Linked DNA regions of Homo sapiens: region 2 is linked to region 1. The links are contacts of gene promoters, found by promoter capture Hi-C in human tissues and cell types (Jung and others, 2019). All regions are on one chromosome and are shown on one strand. Each heading gives the region's core, a stretch centred on a gene start or on the middle of the fragment in contact. The rest is flanking DNA. Distances are from core to core; before and after follow the strand shown.

Region 1 (6,199 bases), core at 1,786-4,285:
TGCCACTGCACTCCAGCCTGGGTGACAGAGCAACACTCTGTTCCAAAAAAACAAAAACAAAAATAAATAAAAAGTAACCACTGGATTTGACAATCTGGAGGTCACACTGGCAATCTTGACAGGAGCTGTTTTCATGGAGTGGCTGGAACAAGAGCCCAATCGAAATGTTTCTAAAGAGAGGGAAGGAGAAGTAGAAACTGGTGAGTTTTACTTCAAAGAGAAGCAGAGAAACATGCCAGTACCTGGAATGTAATGTAGAGTCACAGGGGTATTTTATTTTAAGTTGGGAGATATTACACCAGTGTCAAAGATTACAGTATTTGGGCATGGCAGGCCCAGGCATGGTAGCTCATGCCTGGAATCCCAGTGCTTTGGGAGGCTAAAGCAGGAGAAATGCTTGAAGCCAGGAGTTTCAGACCAGCCCGGGCAACAGTCTCTACAAAAAAATTTAAAAATAGCTGGGTGTGGTGGTGCGCACCTCCAGTCCTAGTTACTCAGGAGGGTGAGGTGGGACAATTGTGCCACAGCACTCTAGACTAGGCTACAGAGGAAGATCTGGAAGATCCCCTCTGCAAAATGAAAAAAAGGGCTCAGTAAATTCAAGATATTTGATTTGGGTGTCACTGGTCAACTCGGTGAGACGTTTCAGGAGAGCCATAAAAGTAAAAATATTTCATGAATTAAATAATTAATGGATCATTAGACAAAATGGATTGTGTGTACAGATTTAGATGGGAAGGGGAGAAAAAAACAGGAGGTAACTAGAAGGTGATACAGAGTCAAGGTTTTTTGTTTTTTGAATTCTTCGTTTCTAGGCTGTGTGGAAAGAGCTACCTGGACAGAAAAGCCTGAAGAATCAGAAGAAAGGGCAACTGATGGTGCAGGGACTGGTCTCAGACAAGTAAGGGGTCATTTCACCCTATGAAGGTAAGGGAAGGTAAGGAGGTAGAGATAGAATAAGGTAGGTAGAGGTCAAGGTAGGATGGCAAGGGGGGGATTTCAGGCCCGATGGTCTCTAACTCCCTAATAAATGGCAATGAAAAGTTTCTTCTTGTAACAACAGACATTCTTGGTTTGAGGAGAACGATAAAGCTTTATCAAAGCTGCATGCCTCCCTAGGGGCACCTAGGCATGTGACTGAGGCCACATGGCCACAGTGTCCTCAGGACCCTAAGACGGCACAGAGACAGTGGATGGAGTGTAGAAGGCCTGGGAACGTAAACATACATGCAGTGGATGGACAAGGTAAGGACACTGAGAGCACAAGTATGAGAGTGGCTTAAGGGGTGGTTGATGGTTGGGGTGAAGCAGAGGCATAGAAAAGACATGTAGTTTCTATAAGTGGGGCGTTGGGGTGGCCACAGGTAGATTTGGGGATAGAGCATGAGACTGCTAGAAGGATGGAGGCTGGGCCGGAGTGGCACTGGATCTCAGAAGAGGGATGGATCTGAAAAGGAGATCCAGGGAGAGGGTGTGAGAGCTGATGTGGAGGAAGCAGCCACAGGATTAGAATTCACGGCATTTCTTGCCTAATGAGGTTGCCTGGGATGACTGGGAACGGGTGGAGAAAGAGGCCTGAGCCCGCACCAAAGCACAATGGAACGGAGCTTAGGATGGGTGGCGGAAGTGTGGGGCGGGAGGAGCGTGGGGCGGGAGGAGTGTGGGGCGGGAGCGTGGGGCGGGAGTGTAGGGTCTGGCTTGGGTATCACTTTAGGTGTGAAGGACGGGGGTTGAGCGAGTCAGAGCCTAGAGTCTGGTTTGTGGTCTGAGTGTCTTGCCTGGTACGAAGAGTTTCTAACAGAGTCTGGGATCCCTCTGAGAACAAGGAATGTGAGGGGATAAGAGGGATGCTTGGTGCAGAGATGTGCTCTTTTGTACGGGATGAGAGCAGCACAGGAAGGGAATGCACCTGTGATGTGGGAGAGAAGTCTTGGAGTTGGGCTATGAAGAGTCTGGGCGGGTCCTGAAGTGCAGGTGGAGGAAGCCAGAGGTGCGTGTGGGAACTTGGGGTGTGAGGTGGTGTGTGGACTCCGGGGTCCCAGGTGTGGCAGGTGTGAGGGTAAGAGGGGCAGGCTGCACGGAATGAGAAGCCCAGGGTGTGCAGACTTCAGGATCAGGAGTGTATGGTGTGAGGACATGGAGATTAGGTTAAGGGGGTGAAGGACTGAGGTGAGGGATGTAAGGTGGGGAGAGTGGGGTATGGAGTGTGCAGTGAGGGGAGCGGGGGAGGGGTGAGGCGGGGTGAGGCGGGGTGAGGAGGGGTGAGGGGTGAGGCGGGGTGAGGGGTGAGGCGGGGTGAGGGGTGAGGCTGGGTGAGGAGGCGGGTGAACGGTGACGTGAGCGATGAGGGGTGAGGGGCGAGGCGGGTGAGGCGGGGTAAGGAGGGGTGAGGCGGGGTGAGGGGTGAAGGGTGAGGCGGGGTGAGGGGTGAAGGGTGAGGCGGGGTGAGGGGTGAGGGGTGAGGCGGGGTGAGGGGTGAAGGGTGAGGCGGGGTGAGGGGTGAAGGGTGAGGCGGGGTGAGGGGTGAGGCGGGGTGAGGGGTGAGGCGGGGTGAGGGGTGAGGGGTGAGGCGGGGTGAGGAGGGGTGAGGGGTGAGGGGCGAGGCGGGTGAGGCGGGGTGAGGAGGGGTGAGGGGTGAGGCGGGATGAGGGGTGAGGGGTGAGGCGGGATGAGGGGTGAGGGGTGAGGCGGGGTGAGGGGTGAGGCGGGGTGAGGGGTGAGGGGCGAGGCTGGGTGAGGAGGCGGGTGAGCGGTGACGTGAGCGATGAGGGGTGAAGGGTGAGGCGGGGTGAGGGGCGTCGGGGGAGGGGCATGGGGTGTGGAGTGAGTGGAGTCGGGTGAGTGGAGTTGGGTCGAAGTCAAGGGTCTGGCTTGAGGTTGGTGCCACCGCGAACGCTAGGACAGGGTCAGGCGGAGCCCAGCCGTCAGGGCGCGTTGGGAGGGCCGGGGCCCAGGGGGGCGCGGCCTCGCTCACCTCCAGCTTGGCCCGCGCTCCGGTCCTGCTCTGGCGCCCCCAGCGGCCGCTTGAGGAACAAGGCCGCTCCTCGAGAGGGATGCCCCGCCCTTTCCGTTAGCGAACCCTCCCCGGAAGTGACCTCTCGCCCTCATTGGGTGTCCTCGGGAAAAGGGGCGGGGCATTCCGCGCTGCTCCCACAGGTCTGCGGCGTCCGAGTCTGGGACTGGCAGGTGCGGTGCTGGGGACGTCCTGAGGTTGAGGGAGAATCCTGCGGAGATGAAGAGCTTCCCGGCCTGACAGTTTTGCCCCCACCTCCTTCTTGAGCTTAAGGATTTATACGCAGGGCCCCGTTTGCCTGCTGTGTCCCCAGTGTCCAGGACAGCGCCCGGTACCAAAGGTGCTGGTAAACATTTGTCGAATGAGTCGCTGAACGCCCAGCTATTTCCACTGTCACAGCGATCATGTGTGGCGGACATTATGTGGCATGTATCTTACAGAGGAGGCAGCCCGGGCTCAGGGAGACGAGGCAGAGGTGCACGCAGGTCTATGTGGGCTGGAAAGTGCTGGGGCCTCCCGGGCGCTCCTGGTCTCCAGGCAAGAACTGGAAGCAGAGCCACTCAACACCTAGAAGGGCAGTGACAGAAAGCTCTGGCTGGGAGGAGGCTGACCAGAGGCCAGTCTGAGCTCAGCCTTTTTTTTCAGAGGGACGTGGGCACCCTAGAAGGGTGGTAAGTAGGCGAGTGGCAGAGTTAAAAGGTCTCTGGCTGCCGAGGCGGGTGGCGACGGGGCCGGCCGTTGCTGTTGTTTGGCTGAGTGGTGGACAGGGTCAAAGCCATTCCAAGGTCGACTTGACAGGGCTTGGTAATGTGGGAGGGAGGGAGAAAGAAGCAAGGGGCTAATGGCCGGGGTGATACCACTGGCAGAGATGTGGAAGAGTGGGAGAAGCTAGCTTGGAAGGTTAACTTTGATTTTGAACACCTTGTGTTTGAGAATCCTGACAAACCTTAGACCCCCTGAATTTTCTCTCAGGGATTCTGATTCTTAGCAGCCTGATTGCAGAGGAGGAAAAATGGCTGGGGTTGAGCCAGACAGTTCTGGGCAAGGAGTGAGCATTCGCTTGTTTATTGAGGAGGCTGCTGCCTGGGCCACACTCCCTCCGCCAGCTGCCAGGTTCCTGCCCCGGTTGAACCCGGTTTTCTGGCCATCCCTTTCCACCTGTGAGCTGCTCTTCATACTTCCATTTGCTTATACAGCCCAGAGCCGATTTCTGTTACAGCAGCCCAGAGAAACATGAATAGGGAATAATTCTTTTTTTTTTTTTTTGAGACGGAGTCTTGCTCTGTTGCCCAGGCTGGAGTGCAGTGGCACGATCTCGGCTCACTGCAACCTCCGCCTCCCAGGTTCAAGTGATTCTCCTGCCTCAGCCTCCCTAGTAGCTGGGATTACAAGCACATGCCACAACGCCCAGCTAGTTTTTGTATTTTTAGTAGAGACCGGGTTTCGCTATGTTGGCCAGGCTGGTCTCGAACTCCTGTCCTCAGGTGATCCACCCGCCTCGGACTCCCAAAGTGCTGGGATTACAGGTGTGAGCCACTGTGCTTGGCCCGAATCAGGAATAATTCTGATGGCTAAGGAAGACAGCTTCCGAGAGAGTAGGAGAAAGGGCACAGGATTCCAGGCAGAAGGCCCATCTAGGGCAAAGGCGAAGGTGTGGCTCAGCCTGCCTCCTTTGGGGAATGGCGAGTGTGTTCTGGGCTCAGGGTTCTTGGTAAGGGACAGAGAAGACTCGGGAAAGATCAGTTGAGCTGGAATGTGCAGGCTCTTGAGTACCCTGCTCAGGAGCTGGAGGTGGGCTACCCTGCAAACTCCAGGCCATGAAGCCCAGGAAGATGTCAGGCTGGTCTTCCCATGCCCTTGTGTATCTGAGACCAACTGTCACTAAATGTTTCCTTTACGCCCTGGACACACAGCTAGACTCTACTTCTCAGATTCTCTTGAAATACAAGTCTTTAGCCAGAGGGTGTGGAGGGAAATGCTGTGTATCACTTTGAGGTTGAGGCCATCAAAGCCTCCCACAGGTGGCCCCCTCTTTCTCTCCCCACGTACTTATGATGTTGATGCCCAAGGCAGCTTGAGTACTACCTGCTGAAGGCAGGGCCTCTGTCACCATAGATCCTTGAATAACAGTATGGAGCAGAGCCCTCATCTCAGCCAACTGGATTTTATCTGACCAACAGTCCAGCTTCTATTGGGTTGAGCCATGAGGTTTCAGGATTTATGTTATGGCTGCTAGCTTTTATTAATGCAGACCTGCAGACCTATGGGACATGGGGAACTAATTGGGGTTTGGGTTGTCATCAGAGGTTTATTTATTTTTTTAAGACAGGGTGTTGCTCTGTCACCTAGGCTGGAATGCAGTGGGTCAATCATGGCTCACTGCAGCCTCAATCTCTCAGGCTCAAGTAATCCTCCCAACTCAGCCTCCAGAGTAGCTGGGGCCACAGGCAAGTGCCACCACGCCTGGCTAATTTTTTTTTTTTAATTTTGTAGAGATGGGGTCTCACTGCACCACCCAGGCTGGTCTCGAACTCCTGGGCTCAAGACCTCCCAAAGCACAGGCATTACAGGCGTGAGCTACCATGCCCAGCAGTCTCCAGAGGTTTATACCCTGGTTTACCACTGTTGTTCCTCATCTCACTATTTTAACCCAGAACAAATGAGATAAAAGAACTTTAATGCTGAATTTTGATGTTAATTGAAAGCTAGCTTGTTGGAAACTCTGTTTACTGCTATCTCAGGACGGGGTGAGCTGATGTCCCCAGAAGACTACCAAAACGCAGGCACCTTCCCAGGGGAGGCTTACTGGCACCCAAACAGGTAGAGGTCTCTGGAAATACTTTTGGAAGCTGAAGAACGCTCTGATATGGAATGTAACATTTTGCAGGCAGAGGTGTACTCTTTTTTTTTTTTTTTTTTTGAGACAGAGTCTCGGTCTCCCAGGCTGGAGTACAGTGGCACCATCTTAGCTCACTGCAACCTCCATCTCCTGGGTTCAAGCGATTCTCCTGCCTCAGCCTCCTGAGTAGCTGGGACTACAGGCACGTGCCACCACACCCGGCTAATTTTTGTATTTTTAGTAGAGGCAGGGTTTTGCTGTATTAGCCAGGATGGTCTCGATCTCCTGACCTCGTGATCTGCCCGCCTCGGCCTCCCAAAGTGCTGGGATTACAGGTGTGAGCCACC
Region 2 (6,199 bases), core at 2,303-4,802, 130 kb before region 1:
ATCACGCCACTGTGTGTACTTCAGCCAGGGCAACAGAGCAAGATCCTTGCTCAAAAAAAAAATACATATTCTAAAAAAAAAAATCATGTCATTTGGGAACAAAGATAATTTTACTTTTGCCTTTACCATTTGGATGCCTTTTATTTCTTTTTCTTGCCTAATTGCTCTGGCTGGGACTGCTAAGAGAAGACCGAATAGCAGTGGTGAGAGTGGGCATCCTTGCCTCGCTCCTGATCTTAGAGAAGCTTTCAGTCTTTCAGCATTGAATATGTTGTCAGCTATGGGCTTTTCATAGGTGCCTTTATCATACTGAAGATATTTCCTTCTATTCCTAGTTTGAGTGTTCTATCAAGAAAGTATGTTGAATTTTTTTTTTTTTTTGAGACAGAGTTTTGCTCTTGTTGCCCAGGCTGGAGTGCAGTGGCATGATCTTGGCTCACGGCAACCGCCGCCTCCTGGGCTCAGGCGATTCTCCTGCCTCAGCCTCCCAAGTAGCTGGGATTACAGGCGTGTGCCACCATGCCCGGCTAATTTTTGTATTTTCAGTAAAGATGGGGTTTCACCACGTTGGCCAGGCTGGTCTTGAACTCCTGACCTCAGGTGATCCACCCTCCTCGGCCTCCCAAAGTGTTGGGATTACAGGCATGAGCCACCGCACCTGGCCGTATGTGGAATTTTATCAGATTTTTTTTGTATGAGTTGAGATGATCATTTGGCTTTCGTCCTTTATCCTGTTAATGTGGTGTATTGATTGATTTTCATACGTCGATCCATCCTTGCATTTGAGGAGCAAATCCCACTTTATCCTGGTATATAATTCTTTTGATATGATGCTAAGTTTGGTTTGCTAGTATTTTGCATCCATGTTGATAAGGAACATTGGTTTGTAGTTTTCTTTTCTTGTAGTGTCCTCATTCAGCTTTGGTATCAGAGGTAATTCTGTCCTCACAGAATGAATTAGAAAGTATTCTCTCTTAGTTTTTTGGAAGAGTTTGAGAAGGATTAGTGTTAACTCTTCTTTAAATGTTTGGTAGACCTCATCGCCAGGAAAGGAAAAACAAACAACAAAATAAATGTTTGGTAGAATTTACCAGCAAAGCCATCTGGTACGGGCTTTTTGTTGAGAGGTAGGTCTGACTCCATGTTACAGATGAGGTGACACAGGAAAGCCTCCTCCAAGGTTGCTCAAGGTCACATGGGCAGAGAAGGTGAAGCCAGGATTTAGGACTACGTTTCTGTGGAGAACATGAAGCAAATGAGCCTCCTGCCTTTCTCTAGCTCCAACCCCACTGTGTGGAACGAGGAGCCCAAGCTCGAATCCTGGTGTGGAATATACACCTCACCCCATTCCCCTCTCCATACAGTCCTCCTTCTCCATGGAGGCAGAAGAGGGTCTGGGACACAGGCTGCCGTGGCCCTGGAATGTAAGAGACGGCAGTGGGGGGCGAGTGCGTCAGACCTATGTCCCCCTCTCTGTCCTCATCTGGAAGAAGCTACATGGGAGGTGAGAGATGGCAGCTGTCCTCGTTCAGCCACCTCTGTCCCCCAGGGGAGTATCTAGGTGGCCAGAACCACCTCTGGGCTTCAGCCCATGCTGGTTAAGTCTGGGCTCCCTTGGGGAGTGTCTGAATGTGCCCCTCACAGTCTCACGTTTGTGTGGTGGACGATATGCACACGCCTGCCCATCCTGGGTGGAATCCTCATGTGCTTGAGAGTCTAACACACTTCCAATAATTCATGAGAAAGACAGAATCATAAAGGAACTTCTCACATACTTAGAACTGAAGAATCATAAAAATACTACTTAGCAAAATGTGTAGAATGTAGTTAAAGTTGATTGTATACAGGGAAATGTAGCCTTTAAAGACAGACTGGAAAGAAAGGCTGCAATTAATGAGTTGAGCTTCCAACTGAAGGACAAAAGAAGCCAGGCCTGGTGACTTATGCCTGTCATCCCAGCACTTTGGGAGGCGGAGGCGGGCAGATCACCTGAGGTTGGAAGTTCAAGACCAGCCTGACCAACATGGCAAAATCCCGTCTCTACTAAAAATACAAAAATTAGCTGGGCATGGTGGTGGGCACCTGTAATCCCAGCTACCAGGGAGGCTGAGGCAGGAGAATCACTTGAACCCAGGAGGCAGGGGTTGCAGTGAGCCGAGATCGTGCCACTGCACTCTAGCCTGGGAGACAAAGCAAGACTCCGTCTCAAAAAAAAAAAAAAAAAAGAATAAACCCGCAGAAAGTAGAAAGGTGATGATTCAGATTGAAGCAGAGACCAACAGACACCCACAGGCAGGAGGCAGAAGTGCTCAGTGGCTATTTGAAGAAGCTCCGTAATAGAGAGATGACCCTCAGGAAAACGCTTAAAACTCCTTCCTAGCTACCCAGAGACTGGACTTGTGAGGAGTTAGGACGCCACCTTTAGGAAGGGTTTCCCTCAGCTTTGTGGTGTAGCCGGCAGGAGAAAACCGATCTAAGAACTGTCTTCTGTCCTCTGTTTACCCAGGACTTGTTCTTTAAGTACACCTGGAATAACTTTTTGCACTTCCAAGTGGAACTATGCATAGCCGCTATTCTCTCCCACGCTGCCCGTGAGGAGAGGACAGAAGCCAGCGGATCCGAGAGCAGGGTGGAGCCTCCGCATGAGAACGGGAACCGGAGCCTGGAGACTCCCCAGCCGGCCGCCAGCCTCCCTGACAACACAATGGTGACCCACGTGAGTCCAAGAAGCATCCATCTTATCAGCGCCAACTGCGCCCCACTCAGACCGTGTCCATGTCAGCGCTGACGTGTGCCGGACCTCACTGTGCAGCTGACACGGGGGCAGGGCTTTGAAAAGGGTCCCCAGGTGTCTGGTCAGACGCTCGTAGACAGTGGGGCTTGAGTGGGTCTTGCAGATCTCATTCCTACCTGCCTTCAGCAGGGGTACTGGTGCCTTCCACGTGCAGGCCTGGCAAGGGTTAGCACTGGATGAGATGAGTTCAGTCTGGCCTCCAGCTGGAGGCCCAGGGAATAAATGCCCAGGGAGCCAGCAGTGTCAGTGATGGGAGCCACACGGTGGGGAGGGGATGCTGAGGGACATGCAGGCCAACCAGGGACTGTCACCCGGATAGCAAGGCCACAGGTATATCGTAGTGTGAGGTGGAGCCCAGGAAAAACATCTCAGGTACAAGAAGTGATCTGTGTCAGGGCCTGGAGGTGAGAGAAAGTGCTGAGGGCAGACAGCCCTAGTCGTTCTTCCGGACACAGAGAAAGAGGGCAGGAGAGTGGCCAAAGTGGAGGGCAATGGAGAGACGGGGAGAAGGCCCAGGGGAAGACAGGGGTCAGGGGGCAATTCCAGGAGTTGGAGGAGAAGGGAGAGGGTCCTTTTCTCGGGCTTCATCTTTAGGGCGCTCAGCAGTATGAGCCCCGAACCGCACCCTCCTCTGGTGTTTGGTGAGGACCGCGGAGGCTGGGGCTGTGCGTGCGCAGCAGTCAGGGCCTGCAAAGTCCACACAGACGTGGCCGCCAGCCAGCCCTGCCCAGTCCAGGGATGGGTGGAGGGGTGCGTGCCGCCTTCAGACCCTGACTCACGCTGTCCCCCTGCCCCGCCCCCCAGCTGTTCCAGAAGTGCTGCCTGGTGCAGAGGATCCTGGAGGCCTGGGAAGCCAACGACCACACGCAGTAAGAGCCGCTCGGACGTGGAGGGACCCAGCCTGGCCAGTCAGGGATGCAGAGACGCACCTCACCCAAGCCCTGGTGACGCTGCGTGCAGGACTGCAGGATCGGGTGGAGTGTAGGGTGTGCGACGTGGCTCCACGTTCTGGGGCTGCTGTGCAAGGGGCCCTTCTACTGGGCGGACAGCTGCAAATGCTACTTGGGGAGGGGACACAGGGAGCCGACAGGAAGCGGTCCCGTCCCCACCAGGCACCTGCTCTGGCCCCCGCCCAGCCTGGCTTTGCCCTCTTGTGGGTCCGCTGTCCGTTCCTGATCTTCCCCAGGAACTCGGGCCCTCCGTCAGCACTCGCACACAGGGACGCGTTATTTTGGTCTTTCCATCTTCTGCTTAATGGGTGCTCCCTCTGGTCAGGACACATGTCCCGCTTATTGTCGTGGGCCCAGAGCCATCCCCACCCGTTTGCTGTCCTGCTGGGAACTGTCTGGCTCTGGGCGATATGAGGAGGGACTCCAGGGAGCTGGGAGGGGTCTGAGTGCAGCTGTGGGGAAGCAGAGGCCGAGCTGGGCTGTACAGCATGGAGGTCCCGCCCAACCCTCCCCTTGGGGTGCTGAGCCTGAGCTTGGTAGCTGGCAGCATGGGCTCACCTCCTGCGCCACTGCTGCCACCAGCGGGACTTAGGCCACGCCACGGCCTTTCTGCCTCCATTTCCCTGTCTGTAAAATGGAGTGAGAGCAGTGTCTGTTTCCTCATCTGTCTCAGTGGCACTTTTGGTAGTGAGGTTGGGGTGAGCCTGCTGCACGTGGCAGGTGCTACTCAAACAGAAGTGTCCTGGAGGAGGGCAGGGGGCGCGGACACTGGGCAGGGGCCGGGCATTTGCTCTGGAGGTGAACCTGGAGGAGGGCAGGGGGCGCGGACGCTGGGCAGGGGCCGGGCATTTGCTCTGGAGGTGAACCTGGAGGAGGGCCGGGGGCATGGATGCTGGGCAGGGGCCGGGCACTTGCCCTGGAGGTGAACCTGGAGGAGGGCTGGGGGCGCGGACGCTGGGCAGGGGCCGGGCATTTGCTCTGGAGGTGAACCTGGAGGAGGGCTGGGGGCATGGATGCTGGGCAGGGGCCGGGCACTTGCCCTGGAGGTGAACCTGGAGGAGGGCTGGGGGTGCGGACGCTGGGCAGGGGCCGGGCATTTGCTCTGGAGGTGAACCTGGAGGAGGGCTGGGGGCGCGGACGCTGGGCAGGGGCCGGGCATTTGCTCTGGAGGTGAACCTGGAGGAGGGCCGGGGGCATGGATGCTGGGCAGGGGCCGGGCATTTGCTCTGGAGGTGAACCTGGAGGAGGGCCGGGGGCATGGATGCTGGGCAGGGGCCGGGCATTTGCTCTGGAGGTGAACCTGGAGGAGGGCCGGGGGCGCGGACGCTGGGCAGGGGCCAGGCATTTGCCCTGGAGGTGAACCTGGAGGAGGGCCGGGGGCATGGATGCTGGGCAGGGGCCGGGCATTTGCCCTGGAGGTGAACCTGGAGGAGGGCCGGGGGCATGGATGCTGGGCAGGGGCCGGGCATTTGCTCTGGAGGTGAACCTGGAGGAGGGCCGGGGGCGCAGACGCTGGGCAGGGGCCGGGCATTTGCTCTGGAGGTGAACCTGGAGGAGGGCCGGGGGCATGGATGCTGGGCAGGGGCCGGGCATTTGCTCTGGAGGTGAACCTGGAGGAGGGCCGGGGGCGCGGACGCTGGGCAGGGGCCGGGCATTTGCCCTGGAGGTGAACCTGGAGGAGGGCCGGGGGCATGGATGCTGGGCAGGGGCCGGGCATTTGCTCTGGAGGTGAACCTGGAGGAGGGCCGGGGGCGCAGACGCTGGGCAGGGGCTGGGCATTTGCTCTGGAGGTGAACCTGGAGGAGGGCTGGGGGCATGGATGCTGGGCAGGGGCCGGGCACTTGCCCTGGAGGTGAACCTGGAGGAGGGCCGGGGGCATGGATGCTGGGCAGGGGCCGGGCATTTGCTCTGGAGGTGAACCTGGAGGAGGGCCGGGGGCATGGATGCTGGGCAGGGGCCGGGCATTTGCCCTGGAGGTGAACCTGGAGGAGGGCCGGGGGCGCGGACGCTGGGCAGGGGCCGGGCATTTGCTCTGGAGGTGAACCTGGAGGAGGGCCGGGGGATGGATGCTGGGCAGGGGCCGGGCATTTGCCCTGGAGGTGAACCTGGAGGAGGGCCGGGGGCGCGGACGCTGGGCAGGGGCCGGGCATTTGCCCTGGAGGTGAACCTGGAGGAGGGCCGGGGGCATGGATGCTGGGCAGGGGCCGGGCATTTGCTCTGGAGGAGGGCCGGGGGCATGGATGCTGGGCAGGGGCCGGGCACTTGCCCTGGAGGTGAACCTGGAGGAGGGCCGGGTGCGCGGACACTGGGCAGGGGCCGGGCACTTGCCCTGGAGGTGAACCTGGAGGAGGGCCGGGGGCATGGATGCTGGGCAGGGGCCGGGCATTTGCTCTGGAGGTGAACCTGGAGGAGGGCCGGGGGCGCGGACACTGGGCAGGGGCCGGGCACTTGCTCT

What was found. Contacts are between HindIII fragments. The study calls those that stand out against the background at their distance.
Region 2: a fragment that was not itself captured here is called in contact with the fragment with the promoter of SYCE3 in region 1 in 7 of the 25 tissues and cell types used here (H1 embryonic stem cells, dorsolateral prefrontal cortex, hippocampus and 4 more).

The regions. Positions count from the first base shown.
Region 1 is chr22:50,559,884-50,566,082 of GRCh38, forward strand. It overlaps SYCE3 (synaptonemal complex central element protein 3), which reads right to left and starts at 3,036. Exons shown (of 3, transcript NM_001123225.3): 1 at 2,975-3,036. It overlaps LOC107985568 (a long non-coding RNA gene), which reads left to right and starts at 3,078. Exons shown (of 2, transcript XR_001755606.3): 1 at 3,078-3,684. RefSeq lists silencers at 1,459-1,657, 2,728-3,137. The HindIII fragment of the contact is 12,147 bases long and covers 1-6,199 here.
Region 2 is chr22:50,428,667-50,434,865 of GRCh38, forward strand. It overlaps PPP6R2 (protein phosphatase 6 regulatory subunit 2), which reads left to right. Exons shown (of 24, transcript NM_001242898.2): 11 at 2,507-2,716; 12 at 3,599-3,663. Among named protein-coding and RNA genes, the nearest start is that of MIR12114, 24 kb to the left of the region's middle. The HindIII fragment of the contact is 9,141 bases long and covers 1-6,199 here.